5 separate regions of the Homo sapiens genome follow, and regions 1, 2, 3 and 5 are each linked to region 4. Evidence: promoter capture Hi-C in human tissues and cell types (Jung and others, 2019). All regions are on one chromosome and are shown on one strand. The core of a region is centred on a gene start or on the middle of the fragment in contact, and the rest is flanking DNA. Distances in the headings are between cores, read along the strand shown. Region 1 overlaps SWAP70 (switching B cell complex subunit SWAP70). Region 2 has its middle 34 kb from the start of SWAP70. Region 3 has its middle 33 kb from the start of WEE1. Region 4 holds the start of DENND5A (DENN domain containing 5A). Region 5 overlaps WEE1 (WEE1 G2 checkpoint kinase).

Region 1 (5,366 bases), core at 298-2,797, 420 kb after region 4:
AATTTTCTATTTAAAATATATAAAATATTAAAAGATAAAAGCTTCATTTTCTGATTGAAAGGTAATACATAGAATACTCAAACAATGTATTAAAGTACAGAGTCCAAAGTAAAACATTCAAATTCTACCACCAAAGGCAGGTTGTAATTAACTTTTCAGTGAATATCTTTCTTATATATCTCTCTTTCTCCCTTCCCCCATCATGTACACACATGCATATACACATATGTAAATACACAGACATATATGTCCTTTTGTATAAATAGGGTCATATTCTGTATCCTTTCGTATCCTCTTTTATTTTCTTATTTATTTATTTATTTATTTATTTATTTTTGTGAGACAGGTTCTCGCTCAGTTGCCAGAGCTGGAGTACAGCGGCACCATCACGACTCACTGCAGCCTCAACCTCCTGGGCTCATTTGATTCTCCTACCTTAGCCTCCCTAGTAGCTGGGACCACAGGCTCACAGCTAATTTTTGTATTTTTTGTAGAGATAGGGTCTTACTTTGTTGCCCAGGCTGGTCTTGAACTCCTGGGCTCAAGTGATCCTCCTCCCTTGGCCTCCCTCAGTGCTGGGATTACAGGTGAGAGCCACTGTGCCTGGCCTGTAGTCTCTTCTTAAGCATTGTGTTAGGGTCATCTTTCTGTATAAATGCATATAGATACAGACACCATCCTTTATAATGACTGTGAACTCTTTCATTGTGTTGATGCATCATGCTTTATTTAACCATTTCCTATTCACAGGTATTTGAGATGTTTTAAATGTTTTTAACCCAGGATACTGCTATACATTGTACAATGCGTAGGTTACCTGCCCTGTCCCCCAAACAAATAATTATTCAGCCAAAAATGTCAGTAGTACTGAAGTTGAGAAAAACCTGCTCTGTACCTTCTGCAGTGTTGGATATTGGTAGTCTTTACTCCCTTATATCTCCTCAAACACCAGGTATTACTTAGGCAAAAAGTAGTAGCTCTTTTAATGTGCATTCTTTTGATTACTAGCAAGATTAAGCATCTTTTCCTATATTTTATTTGCCTATTTTTGAAGTAAAAGGTGAGGTTTAATCTTTAGTTACATGATACTGCAAGCTACGCAATTCCGTGTAGAAATAAGGAACCCATTCAGAGGACAAGGTTCATACAGTATGTACAATTTGGAACTGCTCAAATATAGTTTCCTTGTAAAAAAGTATCACAATAACCATATTTAAAGGCATTCTTAGTAGAGAAACAGTAAGAAAAGTTATACCAAATATAATACACAACAAACAACATTATGCCTTAGCCATACAATCCAAAAGTTAAAGGTCCCAGGAGTTCCACCTGAACTTGAAAGGTATCCTCTATTTATTAGTGATTAGTTTCTTTTGTGAATTTTCTATTCGTGTCCACAAGAATGATTTGAATATTGGAGCTATTTGCCTTTTTTGTTTTTTTATGGTTTCTTTCTTTTTAAAAGAAAATATAAGCATTTTTCTGTGGTCAAATTTACCAGTATTTTCTGTTTAGTTTCTGAAGAGGGGTAAGTTGGTAAGTTATCCAAAATAACTTTAAAAAGGTGGTTCAGTTAGAGTGTAATCCAGTGCCATCCATGCTGTATGACATCAGTGGCATATATTCTGTGGACAGCATTCCAACAGATGACTTTGAGTTACTTTTCCTTAATCTGTCTGTAAGTGTTCTGCTCTTACTGAATCTTCGCTTAGCCCTATGCTAGTCACTGAAGGATGCAGAAGGAAAATATTTATTTCCTCCCTTCAATAAGGGAGGATATTTGATAAGTTAGATATTTGAGATACCATTAGTATCTGAAACAGAACATAGTTAAATGCTGAATAGGAGTTCATGGGGCAGGGTGGTAATCCATAAAGATTTCCTAGAGTTTATGAATGACCCAATCTTGAAGGATGTGACTAGGCAGAAGAGAAATGTTTCCAGCACAGGGCATCACTGTGGGACAGAGAGCTAAGAGATTTGAGTTCTAGTCCCTACTTTGTTGCTAATTATTGTGTGACTTAGGCCAAGTCTCAGGCCACAGTCTTTTTATCTGTGAAGTGAGGAGATAGAAATAGTATATTTTCTAAGATTATTGTTAATATTAAAGTATCACGGCTTTAGTGTTAAGAGAATTTTTAGAAAGAATTCACTTAGCAGTTATTGAAAGTCTTCTGGATTCTGGGCAGCATGCCAGGTGCCATGGGCATGCAATGTTGTATAAGATATGGGCCTTTCAGAAATGTACAGTCTTACAGGAGAGAGAAATCATGTGTGGTAGTTAGCACAAGAGGTACTGCTTGGGAAACAGAGTGAAGAAAGATCATCTTGGTTTGGGTGGTGAAGGCTTCAGAAAGAGATGCCATTTTTGTTAGGCAGGAAAGGAGGTAGGGGTAAATTGAGCAAGGGCCCAGGGGAGAAAGGGATGTGGTACAAGTTGCCTGGGATGCAGTTAGTAAGCTTATTTGGCTGGATTTATATGGTTGGTGCAGAGGGTGGGAAGAAATAAGGAAGGTGAAGTGGGCTGGCCTGTGGAGTGACTTAAATATACAACTCACATATTTCCTTAGCTTTTACTTCTGTAGTCTTCTGATGATTTTTAGGCAGGGGGATAACGTGATGTTAGTGGTACTTGAAGATTTGGTGTAAGTGTCTAGGATGGTAACTGATTGTACTTAGGGATTGAGAGCAATGTGAACAATGACTTTGAGATTTTTGAGGCTGGTTAGATTAAAGGTAAGAGGAAACAAGCAAGACTTAAGCAGTGACAAGCAGGATGAAAAGATGTTTGGAAGGGGAAAATGAGTCCATGCGGGAATGGGCAGGACTTAGAGTAGACAATGCTTTTAAGGCAGGGCATAGCTGTGGTAGGAAATTGGTCATGCTGGTCCATTGTTAGGAAGAATTTTCTGGTAATTTGCCATTGGCTTGAAATTTTATAAATCAGACAGGAATTTTAATGTTTTAAAAAAAGATTGCCCATTATGAGTTATAAGTCTATAATTGTGTCAGTTCAGATAAGTCTTTTGGAATAGAAATCTGCCCCCACTCCGCTTTTTTTTCAGTGTTGAATCTTGCCCATTACGCACATCCTGTAAAGGGAAACAGTGTGTTACTGGGTGGCACGTTTTAAATAACTTTTTAGAATCTCTACGTCTTTGGAGAAAGGAGGGTGAACACTACTTACTCGTGTTAAAACACTGTTCACCATCCTTGATTTCATTTTCATGATGGCTGGAGTAAAATGCTCAAAAGGGGTAAATGGCAAGCAAACCACTGAACAGGAACAGACCACACGAGCAGGGCTCATGCAGTTAATTAGTCATCTTGTCAGCAGAGGCCCTGCAGAGGCAACTGCAGACAGCTATGAGGGAACTGGAGAGATGAGTTTCTGGCATGGATATGGATCTGTTATTGTGGTAACAATAGTTTATTCTTCAGATCAGCAGAATGAGAGCAAAGCTGCTTAGCAATTATGTGGGTGCTGAAAGAATGGCCTTTGGAGGAACAGGCATTTGAAGCGGGATAAATTCAGCTTTTTCAAGAAACTTGCAAACACCCTGATTAGAATGATTTGGGGCAGTCCTTTTACAAATCAAGAACTTGTAGTCCTCTTTCTGATTCTTTTGTCTTAATCTGCTTTTCAGCTTCCTCATCTGGAGAAGGGGTTAGTGCCTCTTAGTGCAGATTCCCCCAGAGGGATAGGGTGCTGGGAGATGAGGGCTCCCAGAGAGAGAACGGTCCCAGACTTCTAGGTATGTGGACTTCCTTGCCACTGGCACTAACTTGGCTCTGCTGAATAGTGCCTGTCATCTCTGTTGGGCCCTGTGGAGCTGATGGGGTGGGGCTGGGGTAGCACCAGCACATCACTAAAATTTAGAAACAACTCACGGGCGTGTCCATCTTTGTATTGGCAGGGCTATCTGTTTTTCCAGAAACAGAGGGAAGGTAGCAAAGCATGGAAAGGACACCAGAGTGGGAGGCTTGGGTCTAATCCCAGTTTTGCTACACGTAAAACTCTGTGATTTGGGACACATCTCCTAATCTCTGACTCAGCCTCTTCGTCTGTAAAATAGCAATAATATCTATTCTCCCTGTGGAGAGGCTAAAACAAATTAATAGATGGTATGAGTCTACTTGAAAAAGCATAAATTGCTGTATAAGTTTATGGAGGAGCTTTTACTTCTTTTTACTAGTTTATATTCCGGCCATCAAAAATTTTATTTCTTGTATATTTTATTTTTATAAAAAGAAAACCTTGGTAAGGTGTAGTCGTTCACGCCTCTAATCCCAGCACGCAGGCCAAGGTGGGTGGATCACTTGAGGTCAGGAGTTTGAGACCAGTCTGGCCAACATGGTGAAACTCTGTCTCTACTAAAAATATAAAAATTAGCTGGGTGTGGTGGCAGGTGCCTGTAATTCCGCTACTTGGGAGGCTGAGGTGGAAAGATTGCTTGAACTTAGGAGGCAGACGTTGCTGAGATCATGCCATTGCACTCCAGCCTGGGTGACAGAGTGAGACTCTGCCTCAAAACAAAAAACAAACAAACAAAAAACCTTGTTGAGACTGGGCATGGTGGCTCATGTGTATAATCCTGGCACTTTGGGAGGCTGAGGTGGGAGGATCACTTGAGCCCAGGAGTTTGAGACCCGCCTGGGCACACATAGTGAGACCCCATCTCTATTTTTAAAAAATACAAATAAATCTTAAAAAAGAAAAAAATACTTGAGATACTGTCTAAGCTTTAAAGAAAGGTTGCTGATAAAAAGTTTTAAAGATAGTACACAATTTTTTCCTCTTTTAGAAATACTGTTTCATTGTTGCTTTATTCAGTTGGTTGTTTTATATATACATATATATTATAATTAATTAATTAATTTTTGAGATGGGACCCCCTCTGTCACCAAGGTTGGAGTGCAGTGGCATGATCATGGCTCAATGCAGCCTCGACCTCCCTAGGCTTAGGTGATCCTCCCACCTCAGCCTCCCATCTCAGCCTCCCAGGTAGCTGGGACTACAGGCATGTGCCACCACATCCAGCTAGCTTTTGTACTTTCTATAGAGATGGGGTTTTGCCATGTTGTCCAGGTTGGTATTGAACTTCTGGGCTCTAGCTATCCTCTTGTTTCAGCCCCCCAGAGTGCTAGGATTATTGGCATAAGCCACCATGCCCAGCCTGTTGTTATATTTTTTGAAGAAGACTTCCCTTTTATAGACCTTACTAACAGTGAAAAAGCTGTCACAAAGCTGGACTTCTTATCTAAATTATGAAATGAGTTTGGGTTGATAGTTAAGGGTTTTACAAACAAGTCCAACTCTCATTTGACAGTGAGGATGCAGAGACATTGGAGCGCAGGTCTCTTCC
Region 2 (6,137 bases), core at 2,032-4,531, 360 kb after region 4:
TAGAAAAAAAAACAACAGCAATAAAAATTAAAACATGTATGTTAGTGATATGTGCTATGAAACAAAGAAAGCAGAGTGAGTTAGGAGTGTAGGCAGAGGGATAATGATCCTTAATTAGCATGGTGAGGTAAGGCTTCATTGAGAAGGTGCTTTTAAGTGAGGACCCAAGGGAGAAGGAATTAGCTGTGCAGCTATCTGCGGGGAGAACATTCATTCCCAGCAGAGAAAATGGCAGAAAATGGCAGGGCAGAAGCGTGCCTGCTCTTTGGAATAACTGCGAGAAACTGGCAGCAATAGAAAATGAATCACCGTGCTACAATTATTTGACCTTATTACATTTCAAGACATTGACCCACGACTTTATCACTATTGAACAGCCCCCTCATGCCTTTCCTGTCCTCCTTTTCCTCATGCTTTTCCTGTCCTCCATGATTTCCGGGCGGAAGCGTGCCTGGCTGGTTGGAAAAACTGCAAGAAACTGCAAGGAATGAGAAGGAGGCCAGTCTGCCTGGAGCTCTGTGAGCAGAAAGAAGGAGTCAGGCTAGGGGATGAACCCTGCATCACAAAGGGGCCGAGTTGTTGGGGGCAGAGGTCAGCAAGCTTTTCTGTAAAGTGCTAGATAGTAAGTATTTTTAGCTTTGCAAGCCACATGTGGTCTGTATCGCATATTCTTTCTCTTTTTGAAAAAAGTGTGAAAGCCCTCTCTTCCCTCTTGCCATACAAGGATTTTGCTGGCCGGCCTTAGTTTGCCACCCCCTGGGACCTTGTAGGCTGTTGTAAAGATTTTAGCATTTACTCGGAGTCACATGAGAAGCACTAGAGGATTCTGAGCAAAGGAGTAATAGGTCCTCTCTTACATTTTGAGAGTATCTTTCAGTTTTGTTTGTTTGTTTTTTTAACCACAGGCATATACCACCATGCCCGGCTGATTTTGATATTTTTTGTAGAGATTGGGGGGGGGGGGGGCGGATCTCATTATGTTGCCCAGGCTGATCTCGAACTCTTGGGTTCAAACGATCCTCCTGCTTCAGCCACCCAAAGTGCTGGGATTACAGACATGAGCCACTGCGCCCAGACTTTAAATATATGTTGGGAAACCTGGCCAACATGGTGAAACCTATCTCTACTAAAAACACAAAAATTAGCCGGCGGCAGTGGCACCCGCCTATAATCCCAGCTACTTGGGAGGCTGAAGCATGAGAATCGCTTGAGCCCAAGAGGCGGAGGTCGCAGTGAGTTGAGATCACACCATTGCACTCCAGCCTGGGAGGCAGAGAAAGACCCTGTCTCAAAAAACGTGTGTGTGTGTGTGTGTGTGTGTGTGTGTGTGCGCGCATGTGTGTGAGTGATATATATATGTCGTTTATTTCATAAGGTGCCTGTAAGTGTTAAGAATCTTTTAGTTTTTATATGCGGAATCTTTTTTTTCCTACCCCCAACACTCTTGAATGGTAATTTGGCTGGGTGTAAATTTCTTCCATTTATAGGGCATTTTCTTCAATTCTGGGGGAAAAAACTCAGTAGTTTTCTCATCAAATATTGCTTTTTCCATCTAATTATCTTTCTCTGGAACACTTATTATTTTATAAATATTTGAATCTTGTAATCTGTTCTCCATGTTTTTAGTTGCTGTTTTTTGTTTATCTTGTGCTATATTCTGAATGAGTCCTCAGTTTTGTCTTCCAATTCCCTAATTTACTGTTTGAGTGTGTTCAATCTAGAGTTTCTCCCACTTATGACCTTTAAAATTTCAATTAGTGTATTTTTTTTATTTCAAGGATTTCCAGTTGGTTCTCTCTCATACTGTTTCATTTCTGCCTATTTTTGCTGAATAATTTCATTTTGAAATGAAAGTTATGCATTCATCTCTGAACATTTTTAAAATCCAAAGGAAATTTGAGAAAATTTCTGGTCTGATTGTTAATTTCAAAGGCTATCTTTCTGTTTTGTAATTATGGTTGAAAGGTCTTTTAGCGTGAGAAAGTATTCATTTTTGTTTGATTTCTCTCTCTCTTACTCTCCCCTCATTCCTTTCCAGGAGGGCTCCAGCTGGCCCTCTGGGCCTCAAACTAGAGTCAAAGCTTAGGATTATGATTTTTCTATCCCTAGATATTAGGGATGTGGCATATTAGGGATAACTAATATCCCTAGATATTAGTTATGGGTCCAGCAGACAGCTTGACAATTTCTGGTAATGAGGTGTTCTCTTTGCTCCTCATCTCTCTAGTCTCTAATAAAGTCTCAGTCCATAGGTTAACTGCTATTATCTTCATCTTCTTTTCACAAGCGATGGAGCTCACTTCAGCCTCTGGTATCAAGCTGGAAGCCTCCGTCTCCCACCTTGTGGGGAGTGCTTTAGCCCCCTACTCCCCTGCTAAACCCCCATCCAGCTGCTAGTGTCCAACTTCCAGACTTAGAGCCCCACAAGCTTGAGACTTCAGCCTAAGGAAATACTTAGCTTAACGTGTTTCCATTCTATTTCTGGTTCATGGAGATACATAAGATATATATATATCTTGGATTACATATCATGGAGATATATAAGAGTGCAACTGTGTCTTTTTGGAAAAAATCATTTTTATATTTTAAATATCATGCCTGGGTGTTTGAAGCAAAGGGGGTTTTGGAGACAAGCTCACTTCCTTGTGTTGACTTCAACCACCTCATACTTGGTTTCTGTCCCCTACCCCCCTACAGAAACCACCACGGTTAAGGTCACTGGTGATCTTTAGGATGCCAGATCCAATGGACGTTTCTTTGTCTTAATCTTACTTGGTGTATTGTCAGCTTTTGATATAACTGACCACACTGTTCTTAAAACGTCACTCTCTGCTTGACCGCACACTCTCCTGAAACTCATTCTCGTTGTCCTTTACAGCTCCTCCTCCTCTCCTTGAATTCCACATGTAGAAGTTCTGGCCAGCGCAGTGGCTCACACTTCTAATCCCAGCACCTCTAGAGGCCAAGGCGGGAGGATCACTTGAGGCCAGGAGTTCAAGAGCAGAATAGGCAACATAGTGAGGCCCTGTCTCTCCAAAAAGCTTTTAAAAATAAAAAATTAAAAAACTGAAAAACTAATATGGAAATTCTACACCTCTATCTATACCCTTCCCTTGACGAGATCCTCAATCCCATAGTTTTAAATACTGTTTATATTCTGATAACTCCCAAATTTTTATCTCCAGATTAAATATCCTATCTGAGTTCCAGACTCAGTCTACATACAAACTTCACAATTCCAGTTGCATGTTTAATAAATATCTTAAACTTAACATGTTCAAAATAAAACTCTTGATTTCTTCCTCCAAACTTCCTCCTCTTTCAGTCTTTCCCAACACATGGTAATATCATTTATAAATTGGGAGCCATTATTATTTTTTTTTGTGTTCAAGTCTTTTACTCTCCAAGTGTAATACAATTGTTCAGCTACAACAGGAATAATGACACAAAATGGTTCTGAAAAGTACAATAGGAATATATTGTTCACTGGTTTATTTTTCCAAATGAGCAACAGGCTATTTACAAATAAGCAGATCTCCAATGATGTATATTCAAATGCAAGTCTATCACTGTTTGAAATCTAAATGAAAAAAAAATTTATTCAGGCACATTTGATCTGAGACAACAAGCAAACTTTCTGGTATAATGACAGATTCACTTCACTTTTGTTTCCAAAAGACGTGAGCACCAAAATTGTCAAAGAACACTTAATATTTAGTAAAACGGAAGCAATGTAAAAGTTAAGGAGGGGAAAAAGCATTTTCAAAGGAAATCGTTGGAGATCGATTTACTGCAAATAAAACATACTAAACATACTCCTGATAGACATGAATAATAATAAGTAACAGGTACTCAAGAAATGGCAGACCTTGCTGAGTGCGGTGGCTCACGCCTCTAATCCCAGCACTTTGGGAGGCCGAGGTGGGTAGATCACCTGAGGTCAGGAGTTCAAGACCAGCCTGGCCAACATGGCAAAACCCTGTTTCTACTAAAAATACAAAAAATTAGCCAGACATGCTGGCGGGCACCTGTAATCCCAGCTACTTGGGAGGCTGAGGCAGGAGAATTGCTTGAACCCGGGAGGCAGAGGTTGCAGTAAGCCGAGATCGCACCATTGCACTCCAGCCTGGGAGACAGAGTGAAACTCCATCTCAAAAAAAAAAAAAAAACAATTGTTTTTGGCTTGGCATGGTGGCTCACACCTGTAGTCCCAGCATTTTGGGAGGCTGAGGAAGGCAGATCACGAAGTCAGGAGTTCGAGACCAGCCTGGCCAAGATGGTGAAACCCTGTCTCTACTAAAAATACAAAAATTAGCTGGGTGTGGTGGTGCACACCTGTAATCCCAGCTACTCTGGAGGCTGAGGCAGGAGAATCGCTTAAACCCGGCAGATGGAGGTTGCAGCGAGCTGAGATCACGCCACTACACTCCAGCCTGGGCGACAAAAGTGAGACTCTGTCTTGGAAAAAAAAAAGTTGTTTTGTTTTTGTTTTTGGAACTTTCCCATTATAAACAATCTTTGGGTCACACTAGCTGAAGATGATTGGAAAAGGTATTTGTTGGTGCAGAACTGTATTTGCTTGACATCACTAAAGGAATTCTGTAGTAAACACGAGGACATCACCGGAGAAGAGCAAAGATTCATTATTAAACTGGGAAGATCCTACTTCCAGGGCTGGAGCTCTTGAAAACTCTTCAGACGCAGGCAAAATCTGCATGTCAGCTTTAGGATACTTAATGCAATAGTCTCTCATCAGTTCAACTTGTTTGGCCTTGTCAGGGTTGGAGTCAGAATTGAAAAGCAGAACCATGAGCTTGATGTTCTGACTGGGGATAAGACATGTCTTAGGGTAACTATATTTTTTGTTTTTAGGATCCAGTTGTATTTCCTTTTTTTTTTTTTCTTTGAGACAGAATCTCACTTTGTTGCCCAAGCTGGGGTGCAGTGGCATGATCTCAGCTTACTGCAACCTTTGCCTCCTGGGTTTAAGCAATTCCCCTTCCTCAGCCTCCCGAGTAGCTGGGATTACAGGCACGTGCCACCACACCCGACTAATTTTTGTATTTTTAGTAGAGACGAGGTTTCGCCATGTTGGCCAGGCTGGTCTTGAACTCCTGATCTCAGGTGATTCACCCGCCTCAGCCTCCCAAAGTGCTGGGATTACAGGCATGAGCCACTGCACCCGGCCTGTATTTCCTTTTTATGATCTGTCTACAGCTTTGTCTTTTTTTTCTTTTTAACTGTTGGTATTTTTCTTTTCTTTTTCTGTTTGTTGTTGCTTTCTGTTGTTGTTTGTTTGTTTTGTTTTTTCTTTTTGAGACTGAGTCTTGCTCTGTCACCCAGGCTGGAGTGCAGTGGCGCAATCTTGGCTCACTGCAACCTCTGCCTCCTGGGTTCAAGCGATTCTCCTGCCTCAGACACCTGAGTAGCTGGGACTACAGGTGCCTGCCACCACAACAGCTAATTTTTGTATTTTTAGTAGAGACGGGTTTTCACCATGTTGGCCAGGCTGGTCACAAAATTCTGACCTCAAATGGTCTGCTTGCCTTGGCCTCCAAAAGTGCTGGGATTACAGGCGTGAGCCACTGTCCCTGGGCCGGTATTTTTCTACTGATTTGCAAGAGCACTTTGCATATCAAAAAAAAATGAGCTCTTTATCTATTACATGATTTGCAAATCATTTCCCCAATTATTAAACTTTGTCTTATAGGTTTAAAGCATTTTACTTTTATTTAAATTTTTAAATAAAAAAAAAATAGAGATGGGGTCTTGCTATGTTGCCCTGGTTGGTCTCCAACTCCTGGGCTCAAGCAATCCTCTTATTTTGGTCTCCCAAAGTGCTGGGATTACAGGCATGAGCCACCGTGCCCAGCCTATAGTTTTTTTAATTGCCATGTAGAAATGCTTTTATTTTCATGTAATTGAATGTATCAAATTTTAAAAATATCTTCTGAGTTTTGTGTTGTGCTTAGAAGAAACTACTCTGAAACTCTAAAATTATTTAAAAAATTTTTTTCCATGTTTTCTTTTAGCATTTTTATGGGCCATTTTTTTCACTAAATTTTTTGCTAAATTATAGAAGTAACTTAATATAAGATATGGATTAGAATAAGTTGGATTGAAATCCAACTTTATTA
Region 3 (5,331 bases), core at 814-3,313, 340 kb after region 4:
ACATAAGACCTGGAACTGCCTGGTAAGAGCCCACAGTTCAAAAGGTGATATAAGACCCTCCTGGAGTGTCTTCAGAGGACACGCTGGGTCTCATATCTGTTTTCAGCTTTACACATGACTCAGCCTCTCTTTTTTTTTTCTTTTTTTTTTTTTTTGTGGTTCAGATGGAGTCTGGCTCTGTCACCCAGGCTGGAGTTTAGTGGCGCGATCTTAGCTCACTGCAACCTCCGCCTCCCAGGTTCAAGTGATTCTCGTGCCTCAGCCTGCGGAGTAGCTGGGATTACAGGCACCTGCCACCACACCTGGCTAATTCTTTAATTTTATTTATTTATTTATTTATTTATTTTTGAGACAGAGTCTCGCTCTGTCACCCAGGCTGGAGTGCAGTGGTACGATCTCAGCTCACTGCAACTTCTGCCTGCCAGGTTCAAGCGATTCTCCTGCCTTAGCCTCCTGAGTAGCTGGGATTACAGGCGCCCACCACCACGCCCAGCTAGTTTTTGTATTTTTAGTAGAGACGGGGTTTCACCATGTTGTCCAGGCTGGTCTGGAACTCCTGACCTCATGTGATTTACCTGCCTTGGCCTCCCAAAGTGCTGGGATTACAGGTGTGAGCCACTGCACCTGGCCAGCCTCTTCTTATAGTATGCTTAATATCTGCATGAAAGCAAAATACATTTCTAAACATGCAAACAAATACACTGCACCCACTTACAAGACAATTGCTGTCTACTCCATGATTCGTGTCTATGGCCAATACAAGGTGGGCCAATGGCCAAGGCACAGCATGTCCTCCTGAAATCATCTGTGGGAGGAGAATTCACAGTTGAGCCACTCAGGACTTGAAGGAGAAAATAAGATTATAAATATTTTTATATTCATCAACTTGCTGAATAAAAGAGATATTTGGGACATTTTAATACATCTTAAATTAGTAATGATGAGTACTATTCAAATTTCCTTTTCTGTCTGGAGGGAGGTGACATCTGTTGGTCTTTTTTTGTCTTTTTTTTTTTTTTTTTTTTTTTTTTTGAGATTGAGTCTTGCTCTCACCCAGGCTGGAGTGCAGTGGCACAATCTCAGCTCACTGCAACCTCCACCTCCCGGGTTCAAGCGATTCTCCTGCCTCAGCCTCCCGAGTAGCTGGGATTATGGGTGCATGTCGCCCAGCTAATTTTTGTATTTTTAGTAGAGACGGGGTTTCAACCTTGTTGGCTAGGCTGGTCTTGAACTCCTGACCTCAAGTGATCCACCCGCCTCAGCCTCCCAAAGTGCTGGCGTTATAGGCATGAGCCACTGTGCCCGGCCATACAGTCTGTCATGTCCCACAGAGTTTAGGGTAGAGAATAGAAAGTTCAATTTGGGAAATGCTGAAATTAAGGCCCCTGCAGGGCATGCTAGTGGCAATACCCAATGAGCAATCAAGGCCCCAAATTTAGGTTTGGACATCATTGGTATTTGCGTGGTTGTTGAAACCCTGGGTATGAGTGAGATAATCCAAGAATTTGTAAAATGAAAGGAGAAGTAAACCAAGACAGAGCTCTGGGAAAAGCAACATTTATGGGGCTAATGGGAAGAAAAGGAATTAGTGAAGAAAAAGGAGAAAGCGCATTTGAGGAGTTAGAAGAAAATGATGGGTGACCGGCAATTTAATGGCCGCAGGAGAAGAGGATTTCAAGAATGAAGAAGTGGTCAACATAGAGAAGAGGACTAAAAAGATAAGGACTTAGAGGACTAAGAAGATAAGGGGTCCCTGGAGTTTAGCAACAAGGAAGTCCCTGGCAACATTAGTGGCTTCAGTGGTGTAATAGAGAGAGAACCCAGATGTCAAGGGGTTGAAGACCCTGGCGCCAGTCTACAGGGGAATGGAGCTTTCCCTACACTGCTCAGCACTACGTGATGTCAAGAAGATGGAAGGCCTTTTCACAAGATGGCACCGAAAGCGAAGAAGGAAGCTCCTGCCCCTCCTAAAGCTGAAGCCAAAGCGAAGGCTTTAAAGGCCAAGAAGGCAGTGTTGAACGGTGTCCACAGCCACAAAAAAAAGATCCACACGTCACCCACCTTCCGGCGGCCCAAGACACTGCGACTCCGGAGACAGCCCGAATATCCTCGGAAGAGCACTCCCAGGAAAAACAAGCTTGACCACTATGCTATCATCAAGTTTCCGCTGACCACTGAGTCTGCCATGAAGAAGATAGAAGACAACAACACACTTGTGTTCATTGTGGTTGTTAAAGCCAACAAGCACCAGATTAAACAGGCTGTGAAGTAGCTCTATGACATTGATGTGGCCAAGGTCAACACCCTGATTCGGCCTGATGGAGAGAAGAAGGCATATGTTCGACTGGCTCCTGATTACGATGCTTTGGATGTTGTCAACAAAATTGGGATCATCTAAACTGAGTCCAGATGCCTAATTCTAAATATACATATATATATCTTTTCACCATAAAAAAAAAAAAGAAGATGGAAGTTTAAGGGGACACAGATGTAATGAGATAAGGAAGGGGGAGCTGTAAGAACAGGTGCCTATGTTTGGATAATCGGATTTTGTCAGAGTATTACTTTTAGGTGATGACAAGGCTCAGAGTGTGACCAAGGGGATGCGTGGCCTGAGCAGTAAGAAGGGCTAAGGTCATTGGAGACAAGGGGGTTAGAGACTTTAAGATTAAGATATAGAAGGTGTTATCCGCAGGGACACTAAATCACCCAGGATGATGGCAGTATTTCTCCTGGGAAGTCTGTGAGTCAGGGGCCAAAGTCCTCAGTGAATGTAGGGGAAGTGCCGAGGAAAGGAGCCCAAAAACAGTGGTGATGTGAAAGAGGCAGTGAGGACGGGGCATGTGGACCACCTTCCTCCTTGTCACATGGTAGGGAGGCTATCTTGATGAAGTTAGCAAGGACTCATGCCATGTCCTCAGCCAGGTTTCAGTTAAAGCAGAAAGTGGAGGGAGCTCCCATCTGTAAATGAACCAAGGTTCCAGGTGATACAGGCTCAGGACGCTGTAGTAATAGCCGGAAACACAGAGGGCAGCATCATCCCGAGAGTGTAGGAGAGGCCCACTGTCGGATTCACTTGCATTTTGGGAGTCAGCCTAGGATGACAGGAAGAGTTGGGGGCATCATGGGGCTGATTGAAGAGGCACTAAAAGAGACCAGGATTGACTTGGCTTCCACGCTGTGCAGACCAAGGCCCTAGGCTATGCCTATAGCTTGGTATGCACCAAGTTCCCAACAGAAATTTGGTGAGCCTCTGCAGGGCCTGGCCCTGGTGAGGAGAGGGATAACTAGACCTAAGTCAGAATAGAAGTAGACAGTGGTCTCCTGGACCCCCTGGGTGGATATGTCTTTGTCATGGACTCTGTAGTCGGTCTCCCATCCATTCACACACTGTTCTCTATGGAGGAGCTCTTTAGGTAGGACTGGCTTCACTTCCAGCCTCAGGGGCGTGTCCTAAATCAGTTAGAAAAATCCCATCCCCGGGCCCAGTGTTTGGGTCAGGGAATGGCCCAAGCCAGCTCTACCCTCCTCTGTGTGTTGACTTTTCTCTGGTCACAGGGGTTGCTTTGGAGTGAATCTATGACAAACATTGACCCAAACAGATTGAAGCCCAGTAATTTGAAGTGAGATTGAAGTCTAGTGCAAAGATGTAAAATCTTTAAAAACTGCAGCCATTTCTACCCCTATAAGGAGAAACAACTTGTCTGAGTCCATTCTTTTTTTTTTTTTTTTTTTGAGGCGGAGTTTTGCTCTTGTTGCCCAGGCTGGAGTGCAGTGCTGCAATCTAGGCTCATCGCAACATTTGCCTCCCAGGTTGAAGCGATTCTCCTGCCTCAGCCTCCAGAGTAGCTGGGATTACATGCATGCACCACCACGCCCGGCTTATTTTGTATTTTTAGTAGAGATGGGTTTTCTCCATGTTGGTCAGGCTGTTCCCGAACTCCTGACCTCAGGTGATCTGCCCGCCTTGGCCTCCCAAAGTGCTGGGATTACAGGCGTGAGCCACTGTGCCCGGCCGCCTGGCTAATTTTTTTTATTATTATTAATTTGTAGTTTTTGTAAGCAAGATACAGGGTCTTGCTTGGTTTCTCAGGCTGATCTCGATCTCCTAGGATTAAGTGATCCTCCCACCTCAGACTCCCAAATGTTCTTTATTATCGACACCAGTTTGAACTGGATTTTCTGTTACCATGCCTTACCTGAGAGCATCCCAGCTGAGAGAAACAAACCTTAGACATCCCTTTGCCCCATTAGCTCCCACCCATCTTCCGGGACCAAGGTATGTATGGGGGCTGGGCATGTGTAGATTCTGGAGTTCTCAGCCCTCAGTGGACTGTGATTCTGAAGGCAGCTGGATGTAAACTGTGAGTCGGGGAGGGGGTCAGCTTTCTCTGTCAGAGACTATTTGACCCCCAGCCCCTATCTTGGTGACTCAGACATTTAGTTGTATTTTGTAGAATCTTTTGCATGACCACACCTGACTTTCTTAGTAATCTCCCTAAATTAGTTTTCTGTTAATAAGAATGTTTCTTGTCTCTGATCCATACCACGTGGTTATTATGTGCTTTTCCTTCCCACTCTTATTCATTCAGTGAATATTTATCAAGCGTCTACCAGGTGGCAGGCACCATTCTGGGCACTGGGGATACATCAGTGAACAAAATAGACAACAATCCATGCCCTTGGGGCTTATAGGATTACATTCTAATAGGGAGATATAGACAATAAACAAAATAAACAAGTAAAAAATATATAACTTTAAACAGTGATAAAATGGGCCAGGCATGGTGGCTCACTCCTGTAATCTTAGTGCTTTAGGAGGCTGAGGTGTAGGATTGCTTGAGGATCAGAGTTTGAGACCATCTTGGGGAACATAGTGAGAGCCCTGTCTCTACAAAAAATAAAAATAAAAAATTAGCCAGGCATGGTGGCACATGCCTGTGGCCCTGGGAGGATGGGGCAGGAGGACTGCATGAGCCCAAGAGTTCAAGGCTGTGGTGAGCTATGATCACGCCACAGTACTCCAGCCTGGGTGGTAGAGCAAGACCCTGTCTTGAAAAAGGCAATAAAATGCTAAAGTGGAAAATTCAAATCAGGGAGTTTTTGTGTGTGTTTATTTTAGATAGGTTGTATAGGGAAGGCCTCACTCAGAAAGTTGCTTTGGCTTTTGTGTAAAGACCTCAACAAACTGAGACGTGGACCACGGATGACTATGGAGGGGAAGATCACTCTCAGTAGAGGGAACAAGTCCAAGGGCCTTGAGGTGGGCACATGTCTGGTGTGTTTGAGGAACGGCAAGGAGGCCAATTCGACCCAGAGGGGTGATGGAAG
Region 4 (5,365 bases), core at 2,319-4,818:
AAAAAAAAAAAAAAAGATTCCCTCTGGATAGTTCAGATTCCCCTACCAACCCACCAGAAATGAAATGAAGAGGGAAAAAAAATCCTTCCAACACTGCATACTCTAACAAAGGCCACCTATCGGAAATGTGGTCTCGGCATTCCACTACTGCAACCACATTTTTAAAAAAACAGAAAATACCCCTCTTTACACATTTTATACAACTCATCCCCCTTTCTTTATTATCCCAATAAACTTTCACAAGGATATAATTTTAGCTTGCCAAAAAGCCAGATAATTAACACATATCCATTAAGACAGTAACATTTCTTTTTTAATGAAATGTTGAAAGACAGTTTTTAAACATTTTTGAAGGTCTACTTGATGAGATTATTTTTATTTACATTCTTTTTTTATAGATGAGGACCCTGACAGGGTTATCTCTAACTTGCTCCCAATCACAAAGATAGTCAATAGGAGAGCAGGAATATTACCCTAAACTCATGCTCTCGCTAACAGTTAACTTCCCAGCTTCATTCTTATGCTCTATCATTCGCAAAACATTCTATCTTCTCAAACCAAGTGTTCATACAATTTGACACTCAAAAACACGCATAAAAAAAAGTTTATTCCACCACCTTAGTTTCTTTTACTGAGAAGAATTATGTTGTTTTTAATATTTCTCAACATGTTAGTGTTTTCTAAAGACCTCCAGCCAGGCCAATGAGATGCAGTTTAATGTCATGAGAAGAGCACTGGACCAAGCAATTAACTAGTGTATACAGGCCCCACTGTCCTTCCTGGGCCTCATTTTCCCCTCTGAGGTCCCTTCCAACACCAATACCCTGAACCGAATTCCAAAAATTACATCAAAGTCACAAACTTACTACATATGAAAAAGATGAAAAACATCTGTACTATAAGAATTTGAAGACCTTAAAAGATAAACTTGAACAATTATTAGGTACTCATCAAAATAATTTTTTTTTTTTGGACGGAGTCTCGCTCTGTCGCCCAGGCTAGAGTGCTGGAGTGCAGTGGCGCGATCTGGGCTCACTGCGAGCTCCGCCTCCCGGGTTCACGCCATTCTCCTGCCTCAGCCTCCTGAGTAGCTGGGACTACAGGCGCCCGCCACCACGCCCGGCTAATTTTTTGTATTTTTAGTAGAGACGGGGTTTCACCCTGTAAGCCCGGATGGTCTCGATCTCCTGACTTCGTGATCCGCCCGCCTCAGCCTCCCAAAGTGCTGGGATTACAGGCGTGAGCCACCGCGCCCGGCCTAAAACTAAAATTTTTTTAAAGTAAATTAGAAACCATAAAACTACCCCGACAAAAAGCCTAATATTAATTATATTACTGCTTCATATTTTCTCCACCTGCTATTGAGGAAATAGCTCATTTTTTTCTAACCTTGTTAAAGCATGAATTTATCATGCTTTTTTCTTCTTTTTCTTTTTTCCCAGACAGAGTCTCGCTTTATCACCCAGACTGGAGTGTAGTGGCGCAATCACCCAGACTGGCGCAATCTCAGCTCACTGCAACCTCCCCCTCCTGGGTTAAAGCGATCCTCCTACCTCAGCCTCCTGAGTAGCTGGGATTACAGGCACGCGCCACGACGCCCGGCTAATTTTTGTATTTTTAGTAGAGACGGGGGTTTCACCATGTTGGCCAAATTGGTCTCGAACTCCTGACCTCAGGTGACCCGCCCGCCTCGGCCTCCCAAAGTGCTGGGATTACCCCTGAGCCGCCGGGTGGTGGGCCACCGCGCCCCGCCTAATTTTTTTTTCATAAGAAACACTGGGCCGGGCGCGGTGGCTCACGCCTGTAATCCCAGCACTTTGGGAGGCCGAGGCGGGTGGATCATGAGGTCAGGAGATCGAGACCATCCTGGCTAACAAGGTGAAACCCCGTCTCTACTAAAAATACAAAAAATTAGCCGGGCGCGGTGGCGGGCGCCTGTAGTCCCAGCTACTCGGGAGGCTGAGGCAGGAGAATGGCGTGAACCCGGGAAGCGGAGCTTGCAGTGAGCCGAGATTGCGCCACTGCAGTCCGCAGTCCGGCCTGGGCGACAGAGCGAGACTCCGTCTCAAAAAAAAAAAAAAAAAAAAAAAGAAACACTGGACTTTTTCTGGTGCCCAAAAACAAAACTGTCTTGTCATCGTTGAAGCCGAGTAAGATTAGTCAACAGGATAATCACTTTCGAAAGAGAAACTTTACAGTGACAGAAAAGTGAAAAGGAGTCCCCCTCATCAGGATGACACAACCTTAAAGTACAACCCGACAAACCTCCACCCACTTGAAACCCACTAACTGGAAACTCCAGACAAAAACTTATTTTCAAAACTGTTACAATTCAAAGACTCCAATGACAGTGCAGTGGAAAATTCACGGGGACTGTATAATTTTCACGGCCTTCTGCAGTGAGTGCCAAATCTGGTCAGGGCCCCATCTTTGACTCCCCTCATCACTTTCCCTTTCAAATATGACTTGAAACGCATCAGAACACACCAAGCCTCTCCAACTACAATGCTGCTACCCTTTTATTCACAAACGCCTCTGTCCTCATAAAGGACATAAATTACTTTTCAAAAAAGGCATGGCCCCGGGATACAAGCCCTTTCCAAGGCTAAGGGAGTTCCTACTCTTCTTGGTGCCGCCCAAGTTCACTTTATTACTTCATATCCCATCCAGACGCGCAGAGCTGCAATCTGACTCAGGGGGCCCAGCCCAGGGCTGGGGTATAACGGTTTTGAGGAACTAGTATCACAAGCTTCTTGGGAAGTGGCCAGATAAACTCACCAAGTTTTTGTTTTCCTTTTTTTTAAGTCTGGGTGGAACTTACTTTCACTAGGACGTGGGACGCCTTCCCTCCCTAATGGGTGCCAGAGGACAAGCTTTCCTTTATTTTAAACGAAGTCACTCAACCTACACCAAACTGAGAACACACAACCCTCCCTCTTTCTGGTCGCCGAAGACGTGGCCACTGCGCAGCGGGCCGTAGGTTTGGACCCCTCATGGCTCAGAGCCCCTCATCCGTTTCCCCCCTCCAGTCCAAAGCCCCCTTCGCCCGCGCCCGCCCTGGTCCTCCCGGCCGACACTCGCCCGGCTCCCGGGACAAAGCGGGGCTGAAGGAAGGTTTCTTCTGGGGTCCCCGACGACAGCGGGCGCGGGAAAGCGCCCCGGGCTCGGCGCGCACTCACCCGACAGCTCGTCCGGCTCCAGCCCGGTCTCCGTGTCCAGTCCGCAGATGACAAAGTAGTCGGCGAAGCGACTGGGCGCCGAGCCCCCTCCGCCGCCGCCGCCACTCATGGCGCCGGGGCCGAGACCGGCCGGGCAGTGCGGAGCGGCACCGAGCCCCCGCAACCCGGGCGCCCGCCCGTCCGCCCTCAGGCCGCCCCTCCCGCCGCCGCCGCTACCGCGGCTCGGGCCGCCGCCCCCGGCCCTGGCCCGGTCCCCTCGGCCGCCGCGGCTGCCGTGACGGGGCGGGGGGGCACCGGGCCGCCCCGCACCGCATCCTGGATGCCTTCCCCTCCGCGCCGCCGCCGCTGCAGCTAGCCGAGAGCGCCGCGGCCCGAGCGAGCCTGGAGAAGGGCGGAGAGCGCGTGGACAGCCCCCACCGTGACCCTCCTCCTACCGCGCCTGCGCAGGCGCCGTCTGGGAGGGGGCGGGCTCCTGGGGGAAAGGATGACGTGATGCTCTTCGGACCCCGCCGGCCGCAGCTTCCCGGGAGGTCGCCGCAGCGCAGCCGGTGACTGCTTGGTCGCCCGCAACTGCCACTCCCCCGGGATTGAGACTCCTTTAGGGAGGGCTGAGGAGGTGCGAGAAGAGTGGGCGCAGCCTGCAGAGCCGGGCATTTGGCCCATGCTCTGCCCCCAACCACCCACCCAGCAAGCAGAGGTCCAGAGATCTTAGCGCGGCCTTGCCATGAGGATGGGGTCTCACGACTGAGCTCGGAAGCTCACCTAATCCTAGCTGCAGCGTGTCAGCCTAGACCCCAGACAGGGCCTTCTCCCTGTCCTCTCTTTTGGCAGGGGCGGATGAGCCGGTTTTATATTTACCCTTATTTTACAGACGGGGAAACTGAGTCTCAGAAAGAAGCAAGGACTTATCCAAGGTTACGCTGAGTCTAAGAGACATAAGCCTGGTCTGGAATCCTGGGCTTGTGGTCAGCTCCCCGTTCCTCGCCGCTCCCACCTCCCAGCCTGCCCTTTTCCCACGCTCTCTCCTTTTTTCTCTGGAAGCCTCCAGAGGCGCCTGCCATTTGGGAGCTCCTCTTCCTCTTCACTCTGTGAAAACTCTCAGATCCACCCCTAAACCTGTTTTCCTGTAAGAGGATAGGGAGGAGGCGAAGGGAAACTTACCTATTGGTCCTTGTCCTAGGACCCTCCGATTTCCTTTCCCATAGAAGCTAGGCAGATGTGTCTTTGTTGGAAACTGGAGATCAGAGGCCAGAAAGGCAACACAGGTATAGTGGTCACTAGCATGGGCTCTAGAAAAAAATGCTCGGATTTCAATCCTGACGATCATTTACTTTTGACCTTGAGCAAGTTAATCTCTAAGTGCCTGGCGTCATGGTTTTTGAGACAATTACATAAGGTAAATGCAAGTACAGGTAAAACAATGAGAATACTGCCTGGAACATGGAAATCACTCAGTAAATATTACAGATTTTTTTTTTCAAGACGGAGTTCTGTCTTGTTGCCCAGGCTGGAGTGCAATGGCGTAATCTCGGCTCACTGCACCTCTGCCTCCCAGGTTCAAGTGATTCTCCTGCCTCAGCCACCCAAGTAGCTAGGATTACAGGCGCGCACCACCACACTCGGCTAATTTTTTGTATTCAGTAGAGACAGGGATTCACCGTGTTGGTCAGGCTGGTCTCGAACTCCTGACCTCAGGTGATCCGCCCTCCTCTGCCTCCTAAAGTGCTGGGATTACAGGCATGAGCCAATGAGCCCCCAGCCTGGATTATTATTATTGTTCCAGAAGGAAGTACTCTTACGGTTTGTTCTGGGAGGCTGCCACTAAGAGCTGTAGAAGGCAGCTGGCTTCCCCAAAGGCTGAGCCTAGGCTCTCTCCTAGGTTCTCCTGGGTACTTCTCTCAAATATTGTTTCCCTTGGGGAGGTTTACCTAGAGGTTATAGCCATTGTCTCTCGGAGCCATAGCACCTGTTCCTCCCTGTATCTAACCTGCCTGAACTAGGGGGAGAAAAGTGGGGAGGAGAAGGTTGCTTCAAAACGCCCATTCATGGTGATGCTCCACCCGTATCCTGCATGCTGGGGACACAGAGACAGTAGAGGGGGATTAGTGAGTTAAACAGTCACAGAGGCTGGGCGTGGTGGCTCACACCTGTAATCCCAGAACTTGGGGAGGCCAAGGCTGGCGGAT
Region 5 (5,625 bases), core at 69-2,568, 310 kb after region 4:
AAATGTTTCTATTCATACCATCAAAATATTTATGTAACTATCACAACCTTATGGATTATTCTATTTCTTAACCTTCATTTTTCAGGTATTGCATTTAACCTAGAACAACTTGACCACAATGTCGTCTCCATTTGATATTTGTTAGACACCATCTCTTTTCAGTTTCCTTCTTTCTCTTTCTCACCTTCTTGATGTGAATAATTCTCTTAACAGAATAGTTCATTAGTAGTCCAGGAATGTCAAATATGTAGCAACCTACCAATACATGGTTGTGTAAATCAGATGATTCTGAGAAAACTCACGTGGGCCTGGGAGATAGGGAACTGAGTGAGTAGTCTTGCTACCCTCTCAGATTACAAAAACCTTGTCCTGTAATGTTAGATTATAAAATAATCTATTGAAAATAAGTTTTTATTTATTTATTTATTTATTTATTTATTTATTTATTTATTTTTGAGACAGAGCCTTGCTCTGTCGCCCAGGCTGGAGTGCAGTGGCGCAATCTCTGCTCACTGCAACCTTTGCCTCCAGGGTTCAAGCGATTCTCCTGCCTCAGCCTTTTGAGTAGCTGGGATTACAGATGCGCGCCACCACTCCCAGCTAATTTTTGTATTTTTAGTAGAGATGGGGTTTCACCATGTTGGCCAGGCTGGTCTTGAACCCTGACCTCGTGATCCACCTGCCTCGGCCTCTTAAAGCAATATAAAACTCTTGAAGAAAATAAATAGTCCTGCATGAAACAGGACTGCCTCTTTGTGTGGCTATTTGTCCTACTTAGATAAAAGAAAATACGACTATCTGGATGCATTTGTGATCTCTTTTGTTTCCTGTGTCCACCGTTCCTCTCTCCACATAAAGCTTTGAATATACCAATAGGGCTCATCTTCACATCTTTTCCACAGTTTCACTGGAAAAGGATTCTGATATTTATTTGTACATGAGTAACTGATTCCCTTTATTGTGATTTAATTTCCTTATTATCTTATTCATTTGCATTATAAGCCTTTTATCTTGGTTTGGTGATAGATTGGAATTAACCTGTATAAACAAGTGTAGAAAAATATTGATGGATAGGGAAAGAGAACCTGAAATGTCAGAACCTGTTTTGCTCTCATCACCTTTCTTGCCCTTCTAGCAATAAGAGAAGAAATGGGCACAGCTATGGTTGCTGGACCTGCTAAAAAAGAGAATTAGCCATATTCTTTCTTAGCACATTTGATCTAGGACTTAGCCTATCTTGTCTGACAGCGTTATTGGTTTGCTCCCTTCTAGAGCACTCTTTCCCCTCCCTCAGTTCAAGATTTGTACAAGTAAGGAGAACATACTTAAGACTAAGATACCGAGATGTATAATTTATTTTAAAAACACATTTGACGTTATGTTATTTTCTTATTTAAATTATAGGACCTCCTTTTCTGACTAATACATCATTGACCTTCCTAATTTTAGTACCCAGCTCTGATTTTTTTATTCCTAAGCCTTAAACAGGAGATATTTAAAACAATTCCTCATTGCCTTTGAGATGAAATACAAACTTTAAAAGTTTGAAAAAATATAAACAAATTAACTGATTGATTTAACTAATTCTATAAAAGCAGGTTATGGTCTCATTCATAGTAAGAGTAGTATAAATTATAACTATACTAAAATACTGTCTTTTTACCTATAACATTTATAGACTTGTCAAGGGTATGGGGAAACAGGTATGCTCATGCATTGACAATGGGCATATATATTGGTACAGCCTTCTCTGTGGAGAAGAGTGTGTGTGTGTGTGTGTGTGTGTGTGTAAAACACACCATCTCCATATATTACAAATGTGCATACCCTTTAACCCAGCAATTTGGCTTCTAGGTGATATACTAAATGTACGTGAAATTACCAATGTACAAGGTTATTTATTAGGCCATAGTATGTAATAGCAAAGGCTTGGAAATAATTTTAAAATGTCCATCAAATGAGGGACTGATAAATGCATTTCTTTCTTTCTTTCTTTTTTTTTTTTTTTTTCGGGGGACTGAGTCTCACTCTGCCACCAGGCTGGAGTGCAATGGCCCGATATCGGCTCACTGCAACCTCCGCCTCCCAGGTTCAAGCAATTCTCCTGCCTTCTGAGTAGCTGGGATTACAGGTGCACGCCACCACACCCAGCTAATTTTTGTATTTTTAGTAGAAACGGGGTTTCGCCATGTTGGCCTGCATGGTCTCGAACTCCTGACCTCGTGATCTACCTGCCTCGGCCTCCCATAGTGCTGGGATTACAGGCGTGAGCCACTGTGCCCAGCCAATAAATGCATTTCTACTCAATTATACAATGGAATTCTATAAAGACAAGAAGAAATGGGTTGTCTTTGTATATTGGTATAGAGTGATCTTTAAGATAATGAACATATGCTGTTATTTATGCAAAAAGTTGAAAAGAATACATAGACCTGAGCTGGGCGTGGTGGCAGTGCCTGTAGTCCCAGCTGCTTGGGAGTCTGAAGCAGGGAATTTGAATTTGGGTTTGGGAATTCTAGGCTGTAGTGCCGATCTATGTTGAGCATCTATGCCGATCTATGCCGATCTAAGTTGAGCATCAGTATGGTGACCTCTGTGGAGTGGGGCACCACCAGGTTGCCTAAAGAGGGGTAAACTGGCCTAAGTTGGAAACAGCACAAGTCAAAACTCCTATGCTGATAAGTAGTGGGATCAAGCCTGTGAATAGCCACTGGATTCCAGCTGGGCAACATAGATAGACCCTGTCTCTTATAAATTAAAAACAAAAACAAACAAAAAAAAAGCCAACCTGATAATACTGGTTTACTCTGAGAAAGAAACAGGTGGATTGCTGAGGTGTATGATTGAGAGAGAGACTTTACATTTTATTTTGTACCCATGCAAATGTATTACCTATTGAAAAAACAATAAAATTTTGATTTCACAAGCAGGTTGAAGGGAGAAGGTCCTATAAAATAACACTTTCTTGGTTGAGATTGGTTGGTTGAGACTCATTTGGTAAAGATGGAAGAAAGAAAATATTTCAGAAAGAAGAAAATGCTAATATTTTCTATCTTTGTTAGGTGGAAGTTTAGCTGATGCTATAAGTGAAAACTACAGAATCATGAGTTACTTTAAAGAAGCAGAGTTGAAGGATCTCCTTTTGCAAGTTGGCCGAGGCTTGAGGTATATTCATTCAATGTCTTTGGTTCACATGGATATAAAACCTAGTAAGTATTGCAGATCTTCTGACCTGTGTTCTTTGGGGTTATAGAGAATAAATTACTTCATTATGACAACATTGAAAAAATATATATCTTCTGTTTTCTCATTGTTAGTTTTAAAAGGCCTTAGATCCACTTACCAATATTGTTTTATGATTTCTATTCATCTCTTCCCTTGTTAATCCCCAAAATTTGAGATAAACTTTTTTGAGACAGTGTCTCATTCTGTGGCCCAGGCCGGAATGCAGTGGCACCATCTCCGCTCACTGCAACTTCCCCATCCCGTGCTCAAGCAGTCATCCCACCTCAGTCTTCCGAGTAGCCGGGACTATAGGCATGTGCCACCATGCCCAGATAAATTCATTTTTATTAAAAGCCAGAAATTTTTGCTGCATCTTACAGGAACTACAGGTGGGATACTAATGAGGGCACTAAAAATCTGTGTTTAAAGCCCCACTCTTCCACTAGGCCAGACCATATTAAAATTTCCCCAGTTGACTCAAGTCCTTAATAGTTGATTTGTTCAAATTAGTATCTACTTAAGGATCATGCATTGCATCTGGTTATATCAGTTTTTCTTTTTCAGAACCCATCCTCTGCTTTGTAAAAATAATATACACTTATCTTGCAAGCTATCCCTTTTTCTGGATTTGACTAGTTGCTTCTTGTATCATTTAGCTTGTTCCTTTTTCTCCTATATTTCCTATAAATTGGAAGTTATAACTAAGGATTATGGATTCAAGTTAAGCATCTTAGGCTAGATGAATTTAGTGAGGTTTTATTAATCTTTGGAAACCTGTTGATTTGTGAGAATTTCAGTCATTTTGTACAACTTTATGAGTTATATGCTAGAATTTCATATGCGTATGTTAACAAGTCACTAAAGTTTCTTCTTTCTTTTTTTCTTTTTTTGAGATGGAGTCTCGCTCTGTTGCCCAGGCTGGAGTGCAGTGGCACAGTCTCAGCTCTCTGTAACCTCTGCCTCCCACGTTCAAGCGATTCTCCTGCCTCCGCCTCCCGAGTAGCTGGGATTACAGGCATACACCACCATGCCCGGCTAATTTTTTGTATTTTTAGTAGAGACGGGTTTCACCATGTTGGCTAAGCTGGTCTTGAACTATTGACCTTGTGATCTGCCCACCATGGCCTCCCAAAGTGCTGAGATTACAGGCGTAAGCCACCGTGCCCAGCATGTTTTTTATTTTCAAAAGACAAAAATATATTTGGATTTAAGGCAGTAAATGTGAATTCTTAAGGAATAGCTGTACTCATATAAAGTGTTAGACAAATATAATAGACCCTTATAAGGTATAAAAGTTGAAAATATTAAGGGATGTGAAGTTTAAAAATCTTCAAATTTAGACCAGGTGCAGTGGCTGACGCCTGTAATCCCAGCACTCTGGCAGGCCAAGGCAGGCAGATCACGAGGCAGGAGTTCGAGACCAGCCTGGCCAATATGATGAAACCCCGTCTCTACTAAAATTACAAAAATTAGCCAGGTGTAGTGGTGCGCACCTATAGTCCTAGTTACTCGGGAGGCTGAGGCAGAAGAATTGCTTGAACCCGGGAGGCGGAGGTTGCAGTGAGCCGAGATTGCACCATTGCACTCCATCCTAGGCAACAAAGTGAGACTCCGTCTCAAAAAAAGAAAAAAAAAATTCGCCGGGCGTGGTGCCTCACGCCTGTAATCCCAGCACTTTGGGAGGCTGAGGCGGGTGGATTGCCTAAGCTTGGGAGTTCACCACCAGCCTGGACAACACGGTGAAACCTCGTCTCTACTAAAATACAAAAAATTAGCTGGGTGTGGTGGCAGGCACCTGTAGTCCCAGCTACTCTGGAGGCTGAGGCAGGAGAATTGCTTGAACCCGGGAGGAGGAAGTTGAAGTGAGCTGAGATCGCACCACTGCACTCCAGCCTGGGCGACAGAGCGAGACTGTCTCAAAAAAAAAAAAAAAAAACCTTCCAATTTACAAATACCATCACAAAATAAGTTGTCCTATAAAGAAAGTAAAACGTATAGATGACTCCAGTAAATGTAACATAAATTTAATACTAAATATTTGTGCGTGTGTGTGCGTGCACGCGCGCGCACACACACACACACACACACACACACACACACACACACACATATATATATATATATATATATATATATATATATATATATATATACTTTTTTTTTTCTTTTGAGACAGGGTCTTGCTCTGTTGCCCAGGCTGGAGTGCAGTAGTGCGATCTCGGCTCACTGCAACCTCTGCCTCCTGGGTTCAAGCGATTCTCCTGCCTCAGCCTCCCTAGTGGCTGGTATTACAGGCGTGCACCACCATGCCTAGTTAATTTTTGTATTTTTAGTAGAGATGGGGTTTTGTCATGCTGGCCATGCTGGTCTTGAACTTCTGACCTCAAGTGATCCGCCCAC

The links. Contacts are between HindIII fragments. The study calls those that stand out against the background at their distance.
Region 1: a contact is called between a fragment that was not itself captured here and the fragment with the promoter of DENND5A in region 4, in 1 of the 25 tissues and cell types used here (hippocampus).
Region 2: a contact is called between a fragment that was not itself captured here and the fragment with the promoter of DENND5A in region 4, in 1 of the 25 tissues and cell types used here (pancreas).
Region 3: a contact is called between a fragment that was not itself captured here and the fragment with the promoter of DENND5A in region 4, in 1 of the 25 tissues and cell types used here (liver).
Region 5: a contact is called between a fragment that was not itself captured here and the fragment with the promoter of DENND5A in region 4, in 1 of the 25 tissues and cell types used here (lymphoblastoid cells).

The regions. Positions count from the first base shown.
Region 1 is chr11:9,686,040-9,691,405 of GRCh38, forward strand. All of the region lies in intron 1 of SWAP70 (switching B cell complex subunit SWAP70), which reads left to right. Among named protein-coding and RNA genes, the nearest start is that of SWAP70, 25 kb to the left of the region's middle. The HindIII fragment of the contact is 4,108 bases long and covers 1-3,601 here.
Region 2 is chr11:9,626,514-9,632,650 of GRCh38, forward strand. No RefSeq gene overlaps it. Among named protein-coding and RNA genes, the nearest start is that of SWAP70, 34 kb to the right of the region's middle. RefSeq lists an enhancer at 550-599. The HindIII fragment of the contact is 3,883 bases long and covers 1,341-5,223 here.
Region 3 is chr11:9,604,212-9,609,542 of GRCh38, forward strand. It overlaps the pseudogene RPL23AP65. Among named protein-coding and RNA genes, the nearest start is that of WEE1, 33 kb to the left of the region's middle. The HindIII fragment of the contact is 6,349 bases long and covers 1-5,238 here.
Region 4 is chr11:9,261,782-9,267,146 of GRCh38, forward strand. DENND5A (DENN domain containing 5A) reads right to left here and starts at 3,569. Exons shown (of 23, transcript NM_015213.4): 1 at 3,180-3,569. The coding sequence starts at 3,288. RefSeq lists enhancers at 2,101-2,440, 2,601-2,720, 3,801-3,870 and silencers at 3,011-3,370, 3,421-3,520. The HindIII fragment of the contact is 15,544 bases long and covers 1-5,365 here.
Region 5 is chr11:9,578,470-9,584,094 of GRCh38, forward strand. It overlaps WEE1 (WEE1 G2 checkpoint kinase), which reads left to right. Exons shown (of 11, transcript NM_003390.4): 6 at 3,063-3,209. Among named protein-coding and RNA genes, the nearest start is that of WEE1, 7.6 kb to the left of the region's middle. The HindIII fragment of the contact is 3,154 bases long and covers 1-2,895 here.